Linked DNA regions of Homo sapiens: regions 1, 3, 4 and 5 are each linked to region 2. The links are contacts of gene promoters, found by promoter capture Hi-C in human tissues and cell types (Jung and others, 2019). All regions are on one chromosome and are shown on one strand. Each heading gives the region's core, a stretch centred on a gene start or on the middle of the fragment in contact. The rest is flanking DNA. Distances are from core to core; before and after follow the strand shown. Region 1 has its middle 79 kb from the start of GPR139. Region 2 holds the start of PDILT (protein disulfide isomerase like, testis expressed). Region 3 has its middle 71 kb from the start of GPRC5B. Region 4 has its middle 47 kb from the start of GPRC5B. Region 5 has its middle 61 kb from the start of GPR139.

The links. The method cuts DNA at HindIII sites, captures the fragments that hold promoters and counts their contacts. A contact is called where the count stands out against the background at its distance.
Region 1: a contact is called between a fragment that was not itself captured here and the fragment with the promoter of PDILT in region 2, in 1 of the 25 tissues and cell types used here (mesendoderm cells).
Region 3: a fragment that was not itself captured here is called in contact with the fragment with the promoter of PDILT in region 2 in 2 of the 25 tissues and cell types used here (dorsolateral prefrontal cortex and lymphoblastoid cells).
Region 4: a fragment that was not itself captured here is called in contact with the fragment with the promoter of PDILT in region 2 in 3 of the 25 tissues and cell types used here (heart right ventricle, mesendoderm cells and thymus).
Region 5: a contact is called between a fragment that was not itself captured here and the fragment with the promoter of PDILT in region 2, in 2 of the 25 tissues and cell types used here (lymphoblastoid cells and mesendoderm cells).

What each region holds. Positions count from the first base shown.
Region 1 is chr16:19,993,290-19,995,989 of GRCh38, forward strand. No RefSeq gene overlaps it. Among named protein-coding and RNA genes, the nearest start is that of GPR139, 79 kb to the right of the region's middle. The HindIII fragment of the contact is 6,383 bases long and covers 1-2,700 here.
Region 2 is chr16:20,403,421-20,406,120 of GRCh38, forward strand. PDILT (protein disulfide isomerase like, testis expressed) reads right to left here and starts at 1,317. Exons shown (of 12, transcript NM_174924.2): 1 at 1,076-1,317. The HindIII fragment of the contact is 3,912 bases long and covers 1-2,700 here.
Region 3 is chr16:19,954,802-19,957,501 of GRCh38, forward strand. No RefSeq gene overlaps it. Among named protein-coding and RNA genes, the nearest start is that of GPRC5B, 71 kb to the left of the region's middle. The HindIII fragment of the contact is 3,423 bases long and covers 1-2,700 here.
Region 4 is chr16:19,930,554-19,933,253 of GRCh38, forward strand. No RefSeq gene overlaps it. Among named protein-coding and RNA genes, the nearest start is that of GPRC5B, 47 kb to the left of the region's middle. The HindIII fragment of the contact is 4,266 bases long and covers 1-2,700 here.
Region 5 is chr16:20,011,698-20,014,397 of GRCh38, forward strand. No RefSeq gene overlaps it. Among named protein-coding and RNA genes, the nearest start is that of GPR139, 61 kb to the right of the region's middle. The HindIII fragment of the contact is 3,127 bases long and covers 1-2,700 here.

The DNA of each region.
Region 1 (2,700 bases), core at 89-2,588, 410 kb before region 2:
GGGTCATACATAGCCCTGAGTCCCATTCGAGAGAGCCTTCCCCACTAGGTACTGAGGGAAGATGGACTTGTTACTGAAGACACTGTAGGGAGATGAAGAGGTATGTTTACATTGCACAGCACACAGTAGAAACTTATTGATATGGTTTGGCTGCATCCCCTCCCAAGTCTTATCTTGAATTGTAGCTCCCATAATTCTCACATCTCGTGGGAGGGATCCGGTGGGAGGTAATTGAATCATGGGGGTGGGTCTTTCCCATGCTCTTCTTGTTATAGTGAATAAGTCTCATGAGATGTGATGGTTTTATAAAGGGCAGCTCCCCTGCACAGGTCCTCTTGCCTGCTGCCATGTAAAACATCCCTTTGCTCTTCCTTTGTCTTCTGCCATGATTGTGAGGCTTCCCCGGCCACGTGGAACTGTGAATCCATTAAACCTCTTTCCTTTATATATTACCCAGTCTCGGGTATGTCTTTATTAGTAGCATGAGAACAGGCTAATACACTTATGTTCCCTCCTAGTCTTCTCCCCAAAGCTTCTTACCCCTGGTAGCCACCTCATTTACTCTCATCTTCCCCTACACAGACTCCTGGGTTTCATTCTGATTTATAGAATCAGAATCCAAGAAGGCAAGGCCTGGGAACATGAATTTTAACAAATATCCCAGATGATAGTCACGCGCAGGAAAGTTTGAGAGTCACGGCACGAGACATAGTCCAGATTTTCAGTTTTTAGGATATGGGCTTTTTAAAAAAACCAAGCCTTGAATGACAAACTGCCTGAATTTGAATTGCAGCTCCGGTGTTTGTTACCTCTGTGATTTCTGCAAGTCATTTTATCACTGTGAGCCTCAGTAACCTCATCAGTAAAATGGGGCTGATGATAGTATCTATCTCATTGGGTGATAATAAAAGTTAATTCATTTGCTCATTAATTCATTAATTCACTTGATATTTATTGAGCACCTTTGGTGTATCATGACCTCTTCTAGGCATTGAGGAATATAGAAGTAGAACAGACACACACATACATGCACACACATATGCACACACATATACCTTGTCCTAATTGAACCAGTGCAAGGGTTTTGGCATACTTTTCCTGTAAAGAGCTAGACAGTAAATATTTTAGGCTTTACAGGCCACAAATGACTTCTATGACCTATCTTTCTTTGTTTTTTTCTAAAACTCTTTAAAAATGAAAAACCATTCTTAGCTCATGGGCTGTGCAAAGACAAGCCACAAGCTGATCCGTGTTGTAGTGGATTAAATGGAATAATAGCTATAAAGTATTCTAGCAGACATGATGATGATGATGTGAAGTGCTTAGCACAGCTCCTGGCCTGGAGCCTGGGCTCCGTAAGTAGTTAGCTGTTTCATTTGCCAACCTTAACCCCCAGTGATGCTCCCTTGAGCTTTATGCTCCTGCCCTGGTCACCGTTCTGTGGTATCTTGTATCAGACCCAGACCCGTTGGCCACTCAGCCTTGCGGAAGTGAGCAAGACCCTTCCTGCTGCTCTCTTCCTTTCCACAAGGTCAGAGGGGTAGATGTGGGCATCCATCCTCCCTTCGGTCACGGCTGGCAGCCCCTGGCAGTCCTGCTGGTGGTCTCTCGCTTGGCCAGGGCACACTTCCGTCCGACTCCTCTGCCTCCTGGGGAAAATAGTTGGAACCAGCTGGGATGACTCACAATGCGGCGGCCACGCGGCTTGGCTCTCTGCAGGGCCACAGCCTCTTTGTGTGTCAGCTCAGGGGGTGGCGGAAATGGATGGGCCGCCGCTCAAGATGTCCTCTTGCCAGGATGGGGCAACCTGAGGACATATCTCTGCTGCCTGATGCTTTCTGGACATGAAATGAAATGGTCCAGGGCTAAATCAGGTTCCCCACTGGGCAGTCAGCCATGGGCTCTCACATCCTGGGGAAAATTGGGGACTGAGTTGGCCTTTGGCATTTTGAGGGGCTCCAGAGCTCCCGGTGTCAGTGGATTGGCATGTCCCATTTTTGAGGCCTGGTACCACTCTGCTGTCTTTAATTACATGGCAAATGTTGTCCCCGAAAAGGAAACTTCCCCAAGTGTGGCTGAGAGGACAGTCCTCATCCATCTCCTTGCCCTCTTCTGACCCTCTCTATAATCCATCTTCCACGCTACAGTCAGCATGATCTTTTAAAAATGTAACTTTGATCTTGACTTTCCTGCTTTAAAATACTTCAATGGCTCTTCATAACTTTCAGAATAAAATCAAGAGTCTTTTGAGAAAATAATTTCAACTTTTAGATTTGGGGTTGCATTTACAGGTTTGTTACATGGGTATATTGCGTGATACTGAGATTTACAGTACAGATCCCGCCACCCAGGGGGTGAGCACAGGACCCAATACATAGCGTTTCAACCCATGCCCACCTCTCTTGTGTTTCTCAGCGTCTATTGTTCCCTTCTTTGTGTCCACGTGTACTCAATGTTTAGCTCCCACATATAAGTGAGAACGTGTGGTATTTGCTTTTCTGTTCCCGTGTTAATTGGCTTTGGATAATGGCCTCCAGCTGCATCCATGTTGCCACAAAGGACATGATTTCATTCTTTTTTATGGCTGGGTAGTATTCCATGGTGTGTATGTACTACATTTTCTTTATCCAATCCACTGTTGATGGGCACCTGGTCGATCCCATGTCTTTGCTATTATTAATAGTGCTGCCATGAACCCAT
Region 2 (2,700 bases), core at 67-2,566:
CTGGGACTACAGGCACCCGCCACCATGCCCGGCTAATTTTTGTATTTTTAGTAGAAACGGGATTTCACCATGTTGGCCAGGCTGGTCTCAAACTCCTGACCTCAGGTGATCCACCTGCCTGGGCCTCCCAAAGTGCTGAGATTGCAGGCGTGAGCCACCGTGCCCAGCAGAGATTTCCTTTCGACACAGGAATTCCATCACACCACTGTGCCTATCAAAAGGTGCTCACTTTTGTGCAAAAAAAAGCTTCTGCCTCTTTTTTTTTTACAATCCATTCGCAAAACCGCACACCAGCCAAACTGTTCTCTGTGGTCTACCAGGCCCCACTGGCTCTGGACCCATCTGACCTTATCGCCCTCCTCTCTCTCTCTCCTCCCGCACTCTGGGGAGCCACACTGGCCTCTTCCCTTTCCCAAGCACACCCTACCCGGGGCCTTTGCCTCTGTCTGGGGCACCCTTCCCTCACATCGTCAGCCTTTTCTGGTTCTCTGGGTCCTAGCTCGAATCCACGCTCATCAGAAGGGTCTTCCCGGGCCACTCTGTCTCACCCCATCTCAGCTTTCAGCACTCTCTGCCATATCACCATTGTTTGCATCATATTTTGTATTATTATTTATGAGTGTACTTTGTTGTTGTTGTCATTTTGAACTTTTTAATGTAAATACCATTGTTCACAGCTGTTTTCTCCCCTTCAGAACAGTGCCTGTACCAGATTTGGAACTCAATGAATGTTTGTTGAATGAATGAATGAATGGCCTAATTTAACTCTTACAGCAAACCCCATTGGTTCATTTCAGTGGTTCTCAACCATGACTATGCTGAGAATCTCTTGGAGAGTTTAATAAAAAATACTGATGTTCAAACCCAAACCCAGTAGGTTCTAATTTAATTGATCTGGGGTTGGGTGAGTCTGGGCATTATTATTATTTTTTAAAATCCTCAAGTTGATCCTAATGTGTAGCCATCTATACACCAAAACTGACACTTAAAACTTAAACTGGTGACTCCTGGTAGAGAAAAGCCTCCCAAGGCAGGGCCCATCAGTCAGATTTCCCATTTTCACTGAAGCTCATACCTGCAGGAAGCCAAGGCCACTCCCAGGGTTCCTGGGGCCAAGGTGGGGCTGTGCTGGGGGTGGGGCCACAAACTCTGTGGCCCTTAAGAAGGAAGGTTGTAGCCTGAAGAGGAGGCTCCTGGCTTCTCCTTGTGATCAGGGCAGGACCCGCAGACGACTGGGCATTCTAAAGAATCCACAGGCAGAAATGAAGTCCCTTCCTGGGCACACAGAGGCCACAGCAGCCTCAGCAGCAAAGTTCTGAGTTCTGGGGTTCTAGAGGACCAGGGGTGACCCTGTAGAAGAATGGGCCATTGTTGAGTAAGAGGGGGCCCTGCCTGGCAGCCCTTGCTGAGTTTGCTTGAGGGGCTAGAAACAAAACTCAGTGTGGGGTGCTGGGTATGGCCCAGGAGGGCTCTGAACTCAGTGCCTATAGATTGGAATTTGAATCCCAGCTCTGTCTTGAACAGCTGTATGGCCTTGAGAATGTCACTTACTCTTTCTGAGGTTCAGTTTCCATGCCTGTTACATGGCATCTAACTCATGGGGGTGTTGTAAGCAAAGTAAATTATGTGGAATTTAGAAGATAATTAATGATATGAAGAAAAATAAAACCTGGAAGGATGATGAGGAACGCCTGAGAGGGGGATGGGATAAAATAAGAGGATTTATGCAAAACGAGCAGCTCAGTACCTAGAAGGCAGGAGCCCCTCACGCATCACCACCCTGGCCTCATCTCCTAGGGGAGAAAGATCTCCACTCACCCTGCTCCAGCCACACTGGTGTCCCTGCCAGTCCTCCAATACAATGTCTGGGCCTCTACACTTGTGGTTTCCCCTGTTAGGGAGGCTCTTCACCCAGGTGGACTCAGGGTTCACCCCTTAGCTCGTTCCAGTCTTTGCCCAAATGTCACTTCCACAGTTGGGCCTTTCCTGGCCACTTTGTTTAAATTTGTAAGTGCCCCATCCCCCTCTCAGGCGTTCCTCATCCTCCTTCCAGGCTTTATTTTCCTTCATAGCATTAATTTTCTTCTAAACTCCACATAATTTACTTTGCTTACCTGGTGATAGGTGCTCAGTAAATATTTGTTGAATGAATAAAGAAAAGGCTGTTGATATTATTAGCATCGTTATTACTGTCAGAGTTTGCAGCCTTTGGCTATCTGCTGCCCAACTGTTATTAAATACTGATGGAGATGACTAACATTCATTTCACTAAATTTTAACATCTGTGGGTTTTAGTCCTAGCGCTTTGCTCTTCTCTTTCTTTTCTTTTTCTTTGAGACAGTGTAGTGGCGCGATCTCCACTCACTGTAGCCTTCACCTCCAGGGTTCAAGCGGTTCTCCTGCCTCAGCCTCCTGAGTAGCTGGGACTACAGGCATGCACCACCACGTCTGGCTAATTTTTGTATTTTTAGTAGAGACGGGGTTTCACCACATTGGCCAGGTCGGTCTCAAACTCCTGACCTCAAATGATCTGCCTGCCTCGGCCTCCCAAAGTGCTGGGATTACAGGCGTGAGCCACGGCATGCGGCCCCACTCTTCTCTTTCCATACTTAACTTCCATACTTTTGTTGGCTTGTTTAAATGCATGACTTCAAATACACCCCTTTATAAGTTACTCTCTCATTTACTCTCCAGGATTTG
Region 3 (2,700 bases), core at 93-2,592, 450 kb before region 2:
TGAGGCACGAGAATTACTTGAACCTGAGAGGCAGAGGTTGCAGTGAGCCGAGATCATGCCACTGCACTCCAGCCTGGGAGACAGAGTGAGACTCTGTCTCAAAAAAAAAAAAAAAAAAGTAATAGATTCTTGGTGAGGTTTGGGTACATATGGTGTTAGCCATGAGCCCTAGCTATGCTAGAAAGAGTTAAGACATTATCTGCAGTTCTGTCCTATGTCCTAGACTCTGCACCTGATACATAATTATACTTGCTTATGCTAAAAATAAAAATTATATGTTTTTGGTAAAAAGGCATGGGAATGTGGATTTTAAGAAAAAGTAATTTGTCTAATTTAAAGGGTTTGTAAAAGGAAAATAAATCTTGGAAATCTTGGGGCCCCAAAATCACTACGCTAAAGGGAAAAGTCAAGCTGGGAACTGCTTAAGGCAAACCTGCTTTCCATTCTATCCAAAGTCATTCCTCTGCTCACTGAGATAAATGCGCATCTGTTTGCCTCCCTTGGAAAGGCTAATCAGAAACTCAAAAGATACCATTCAGGACATAGGCATGGGCAAAGGCTTCATGACTAAAACACCAAAAGCAATGGCAACAGAAGCCAAAATTGACAAATGGGACCTAATTTAATTAAAGAGCTTCTGCACAGCAAAAGAAACTACCATCAGAGTGAACAGGCAACCGACAGAATGGGAGAAAATTTTCACCATCTATCCATCTGACAAAGGGCTAATATCCAGAATCTACAAAGAACTTAAACAAATTTACAAGAAAAAAACAAACAACCCCATCAAAAAGTGGGCAAAGGATATGAACAGACATTTTGCAAAAGAAGATATTTATGCAGCCAACAAACATATGAAAAAAGCTCATCATCACTGGTCGTTAGAGAAATGCAAATCAAAACCACAATGAGATACCATCTCACACCAGTTAGAATGGCAATCATTAAAAAGTCAGGAAACAACAGGTGCTGGAGAGGATGTGGAGAAATAGGAATGCTTTTACACTGTTGGTGGGAATGTAAATTAGTTCAACCATTGTGGAAGACAGTGTGGCAATTCCTCAAGGATCTAGAACCAGAAATACCATTTGACCCAGCAATCCCATTACTATGTATATACCTAAAGGATTATAAATCATGCTGCTATAAAGACACATGCACACGTATGTTTATTGCAGCACTGTTCACAATAGCAAAGACTTGGAACCAACCCAAATGCCCATCAATGACAGGCTGCATAAAGAAAAAGTGGCACATATACACCATGGAATACTATGCAGCCATAAAAAAGGATGAGTTCATGTCCTTTGCAGGGACATGGATGAAGCTGGAAACCATCATTCTCAGCAAACTAACACAAGAACAGAAAACCAAACATCGCATGTTCTCACTCGTAAGTGGGAGTTGAAAAATGAGAACACATGGACAGAGGGAGGGGAACATCACACACTGGGGCCTGTCAGGGGGTGGGGGACTAGGGGAGGGATAGCATTAGCAGAAATAACTAATGTAGATGATGGGTTGATGGGTGCAGCAAACCACCATGGCACGTGTATACCTATGTAATAAACCTGTATGTTCTGCACAGGTATCTCAGAAGTTAAAGTATAATAATAAAACAAATAATAATTTAAAAAAGCAGAAGAAAAAAAAGAATGCAACCCATTTGTCTCTCACCTACCTGTGACCTGGAAGCCCCCTCCCTGCTTGAGTTATCCCATTTTTCCAGAGGGAACCAACGTATAGTACATCTTACATGTATTGATTGATGCCTCATATCTCCCTAAAAGTAAAAAACCAAGCTGTGCCTTGACCACCTTGGGCACATGTTATCAAGACCTCCTGAGGCTGTATCTCGGGCGTCTGTCCTCAACCTTGGCTAAATAAACTTTCTAAATTAACTGAGACCTGTCTGAGATTTTCAGGGTTTGCAGGTTTAAAGCTTGTCTTAGGTTAAAAGAAAGGTAGAATAAAACTGATGGTTTAAGCAAGTTGAAGAAGGTTTGTGACAAATTAATATTATTAAGAAAATTCTGTGTGTGAGCAAGTTGGCTAAAATTAAGATTATTATTTAGTTTTCCCATAAATTACACATTAAAATAAAATCATATTGATGCAGGGCCAGAATTTGGGCCCATGTGTCAGAACAACAGGGTTTTCTTGGAGTATTGATCTGTTCTTTAACAAAAAATTATAAAGGGTTATAAAAGGTTTATAAAATTCTTACCTTATGGTCAAATGGGTTACAATTCGATAGATTTCCTTATAAAATTTTATTAAAATGAACTTTAGCATTAATACACTAATGCAGAGGTAGCATATGGTTTTCCCTTTTAAGCAAGATTTTCATTTGCCTGCAGGAAAAAGGGAGAGAGAAGAGACAGATTCAGCTGGCTTCATGCTGTCTTTTTTGGTTTTTGTTGTTTGGAAAGCTGTCTCCTCTCTATAAAAGACTAATGGAGTTTTGCTTTTTTGAAATATTTGAGTTAATCACTTTGACTAAAATAAACTGTGGTTCTATTTTGTGATGAAAAGTGTTTTAAACCTTTGATATTTGATTAACTTTTCAAAATCATACTCTAATCTTTTTTTGACTTGATTGACCTTTTTAGATATTAGGTTCCCTGAAGTCCAAAAGAGACGTATCTAGCTTATTTGGTACATAAAAACTGCAGGAAACATTGTCAAATATAAAACGGT
Region 4 (2,700 bases), core at 127-2,626, 470 kb before region 2:
GGACATTCTATAGACAAATCAACCTCTATGTGTCTTCATTTTCTTATCTGTAAGTAGAGATGATGATTAGCACAATAATAAAATAATAGTACTACCTAGAGCTGTCTCAAGATTAAATGGGTTAGTACACATGAAGTGCTTGGAACAGTACCTAATACATGTTAGTCAAAAGTGATAGCAACAGTCATAAAACAACGACTAGTGCCAAGCCCTGGGCGATGCATTTGGTATGTATTACTGCATTTGAACCTGGTAAGAGCCCTTTTTGAAGAGGTGACAGGATTTGCCGAAGTCCCACAGTCACGACCTCAGCTCCGCAGCTCATGTGTGCCTTTAGCCCTTGGTGGGACCCTGCGAAAGAGTATAAACGGTGCAAACCTTTAAGGTTGTACGCCAGAACTTCAGTTTATTGAGTACCTACTGTGTGCAGGACATTTTGTTAAGTGCATTATCTCATTTAATCTTCACTGTGACTCTATGAGGTAGGTGCTCTCACTAGCCCCATTTTCTTTTCTTTCTTTCTTTCTTTCTTTTTTCTTTTTTTTTTAAGACAGAATCTCGCTCTGTCACCCAGGTTGGAGTGCAGTGGGGCTATCAGAGCTCACTGCAGCCTCTACCTCCTGGGCCCAAGAGCTACTACTGCCTCAGCCTTGTGAGTAGCTAGGAATATAGCAAATGCTACCACACCCAGCTAATTATTATTATTTTTTTTTTTTGTAGAGATGAGGTCTTGCTCTGTTGCCCAGGCTGGTCTCAAACTCCTGGACTCAAGTGGTCCTCCTGCCTCAGCCTCCCAAAGCGCTGGGATTAAAGTGCGAGCCACTGCACTTGGTCCTACTTTCATAGAGAGAAACTGAGGCACAGGGGCCTGTGTCTTTTTCATTTCTGAGGTCTTAGTACCCATGCTGGGTCGGTTGGGTGTAACTGTTTGCTGAATGAGAGGTTGACTTCAGCTTCTGGGATTCACTTGTGGTCTGTTTCATCCATCATAAGAAATGGGGAAGGGAGCAAGAGCTGAGTGGGGTTTTGAGAGGAATGCACAGTGAGCGCCCGGGGCAGAGAGCCCTCTGGAAATGCCAGCTGGGAACACTGAGATGCCTTGCCTTGCTGTCTGTGAGTGTTTATAGGGAGCTGTCTGACAAATCTAGCCCGGTAGCCACTGTGGTGACTTATGAAGCTCAACCAAAGGTGTGTGATCAACTCTGAGCACAGTTGGAGGAGGTCTGGGGTGTCTTCCCTGACCTGGGGAGGTTTGGCTTCATGTAGGGTCATGTGTGCGCATGCATGTGGGGAGGGGTACAGCAGGAGATAGTTTGTGTGGTCACAGATAAAGGTGCTTATGACCTTTGTGTGACTTTCACCTTGGCATAGGGAAGAGATTCTCTGTGAAGCATCTGTTGAGTTTAAATGTCACTCTGGTGTGGGGGGTTACGGAAAAGGCAGAATCTAAACTGGGTACAAATCTGTCCAAGTCACTTTGGGTAAGTTACTCAACCTCTCTCTGCTTCAATTTTCTCATCTACACAAGGGGAATAATATTCTCACTCTCACTATCATAATGCCTAGAACAAGTGGGTGCCCCGTAACTTGCTGCTTCCACCCCTCCGAAGTGGATTATTTCTGCAGGAATCAGGAGAACCCACATATGCCTTGGAGGCAGTCTGGGCTTGCTCATTTTCTTTTTTTTTTTGAGATGGAGTCTCTGTCACCCAGGCTGGAGTGCAGTGGCACTATCTCGGCTCACTGCAACCTCCGCCTCACGGGTACCAGCGATTCTCCTGCCTCAACCTCCTGAGTAGCTGGCATTACAGGTGCCTGCCACCATGTTTGGCTAATTGTTGTTAGTTTTTTTTTTTTTTTTTTTTGAGACGGAGTCTCACTCTCTTGCCCAGACTGGAGTGCAGTGGCATGATCTCGGCTCACTGCAATCTCTCCCTCCTGGATTCAAGCAATCCTCCTGCCTCAGCCTCCTGGGATTACAGGTGTGCACGACCACGCCCGGCTAATTTTTCTATTTTCAGTAGAGATAGGGTTACACCATGTTGGTCAGGCTGGTCTCTAACTCCTGACCTCAAGTGATCCACCCACCTCGGTCTCCCAAAGTGCCACCGTGCCCGCCTGGCTTGCTCATTTTCAAACCCTTTTAGGCCTCAGTTGCATTACCTGTAAAATGGGAATGACAGCAACTAGCCTGGTAGTGTGGTGATCACCAAAGGAAAGAATGAATGTAACATGTTTGGCCATGGTAACCATTCATGTTAGTTTTCTTTTCTTGTTCCTTTTCTCCATTCATTTCTTCGAAGCTGGGTTTCCTGACCCAGGAGAATATGGACAGGATTTGTGGGGGTGGGACTGGGAGATCTCAGAGCTTTCTATGGTACCTTTTGTATCCTTTGATAGGTTTGACTCTTGTAACAGCTCCAGGAGGTAGGGTAGGTGTCATCTCCATGTAATGAATAAGAAAAGCAAGGCCCAAAGGGATCAAGAAACTTACCAAGGAGTGTCCAGCAATGAGGGTGGAGCCGTGCCTAGACCCCAAGCCTCCTACCTCCCACCTATTGTTCTTTATATAGCAGTGGTTCTCGACTGGAAATGTCCACCCAAGGGGACATTTTGGCCATGTCTGGAGACATTTTTGGATGCCACAATTTGGGGTAGGTGTGCTACCAGCATCTAGTGGGTAGAGGACAGAGGTGCTGC
Region 5 (2,700 bases), core at 134-2,633, 390 kb before region 2:
TATTGAACAGGGGACCTGCGTGAATACATGGAGGCAAGCCATGGAAAATGTAAGACACTGGGATGAATGGAGCATTTTCAAGGTAGCTCTTTCTGTGTTTATAGCAAGGTGAGGCAGGGGTATATTTGTTACACAGTTTAGCCTTTTCTGGACTTGGGGATACTATTGGCATCAGTTAGTTCCTTTTATAACTCTAGCAGCATATGTGTAAACCAAAAAGAAAAGTTAATCTTCCAAAAACAATGTTGCTTCCCCAGGCATGATCTCTCATATCATAAGGTCTCCTTCTGTCTCCTTGATTCATTTCTTCATTTCCTTCATGTCTACAGGAATAAATCACAGAAGGCTAGTTCTGGGATCATCACTTAGGGGTTATTTGGAACCCATGTATGGGAGAGTTTTGTCTTAAGCTAAGCAGAGCTCTTGTAAGCCTTGTCTGTCCACATCATCTGGATCCCTCATCAGGTGTTTGTGCGTAAGGACCAAACTCCAAAATCCATGGTAGCCAATAATCCTGACATTTTTGGAGGACCAGCTACTTCAGAGTGACTTTCAATCTTGGATTATTTAGGTCACTAATTAAAACAACAACAACAACAAACTGCCTTTGTGACCTCAATATCCATCCATCCATCTATACATCCATCCATTGATTTATTTATCTATTCATCCCCAAACTATTTAATGAGTACAACTACTAAGTACTGGGCTTAAGGTTTGCAGAAGAAAATATTTTGTATTCTCCTGAGTAATGTGAACTTATTCCAGGATTCAATACCCTCCTTTTCATACTTATGCATAAATCACCTATAAGAAAACCCTTTTGTTTTATTTTATGAAGTGTAAATGTTGTTTTCTGATAATAAAATTGATGTATAATTGTATTAGTTCATCCTTGCACTGCTGTGAAGAAATACCTGAGACTGGGTAATTTATAAATAAAAGAGGTTTAATCGGTTCACAGTATAGGAAGCACAGTGGCTTCTGCTTCTGGGGAGGCCTCAGGAAACTTACAATCACAGCAGAAGATGAAGTGGAAGCAGGCATGTCTTACATGGCTGGAGGGAGCAGGAGGAAGAGAGAGAATGGGGAGGTGCCACATGCTCTTAAACAGATCTCATATTAACTCACTCACTCACTCCCATGAGAACAGCACCAAGGGGATGGTGCTAAACCATTCGTGAAAGTTCCAATCACCTCCCACCAGGCCCCACCTTCAACATTGAGGCTTACAACTGACCATGGTATCCAAACCATAGCAATAATCGTTGAAAAACCTTCATTAAATCAGATATTTACAATTTAGATAGTGAAAATTCTTTTAAAACAAGATGGAATTATACTATACCTCCTATTTTCACTTAAAAATCTAAGGTAGATATCTTAGCCATGAGTCCATACAGATCTAACTCATTATTTTCAAATAGCTTCATAGTATTCCATTTTACGGAGGTACAATAATTTATTTAATACATTTCTTATTGATGAGCATTTAGAACAGTTCCAGTAATTTACTGTTATCAAACAAGGCTGCAATACCTTTGTTCAAATATATTTGTATGGTTTGTCAACAATTCAAAACATGATAAATGCCTAGAACTAGGATTGCTGAGTCAAATGGTAGGTGTATTAATAGCTATTGCTAACTTCCCTTCTAAAAAGTTTATGTGAATTTAAACTACTACTAGTAGTATGTACGAGTGTACACATTTCCCCACACTCTCACTCACACTGTGTGTCAGTGACATCTGGCAAGATAGAATAACCTCATGTTGTTTTACTTTGCATCTCTTGAAGTAATAATAAGCTTTAATATGTTTTCAGATGTTTATTATCATTAGTGGTTCTTATTTTATAAATTGCCTCTTCAAATTCTTTGCAAATTTTTACAGGGGTGTTCTTCTTTTTCTTTTTTCTTTTTAACTACTCTTTATAGATTGAGTATGGATAAGGTTTGGCTGTGTCCACACCCAAATCTCATCTTGAATTGTAGTTCCCATAATCCCCACGTATGTGGGAGGGACCGGGTGGGAGGTAATTGAATCATGGGGGCAGTTTCCCTCTTGCTGTTCTTGTGATAGTGAGTTCTCATGAGATCTGGTAGATTTATAAGGGGCTTTTCCCCCTTTTTGCTTGCACTTCTTTTTGCTGCCGCCATGTGAATAAGGACGTATTTACTTCCCCTTCCACCATGCTTGTAAGTTGCCTGAGGTATCCCCAGCCATGCTGAACTGTGAGTCAATTAAACCTCTTTCCTTTATAAATTACCCACTGTTGGGTATTTCTCCATAGCATCATGAGAATGGGCTAATACAGGCATGAACTCAGTATTTTGTGTGTGTGTTCATGTTTTTTACAGTATGCTTGCTTTAAATATATTGACAATGTCTTTTATCATGAAGGAGTTTAAACTGTTTGTATGATTAGGTCTGTAAGTCTTTTCATTCCTTTTCCTCCCTGGTTTTTGGTGTTATGCCAAGGAAAGCTATTGTTAAAGTAAATTAAAATGAAAACCAAGTGGGAAGAATCCCTGAGCAAACAAAGCCAGTTTGGTCTCAATAAGTGACCTTAACCTTGTTTGATTTGCAAACATAAGTGAAACTTAACTTGTGCTATTTCTTATAAAAGACTGTATTAAAGAATAACAGAACTGAAGCTCAACCAAACAGAAGCAGCCAACAAACTTATAATTATATAACT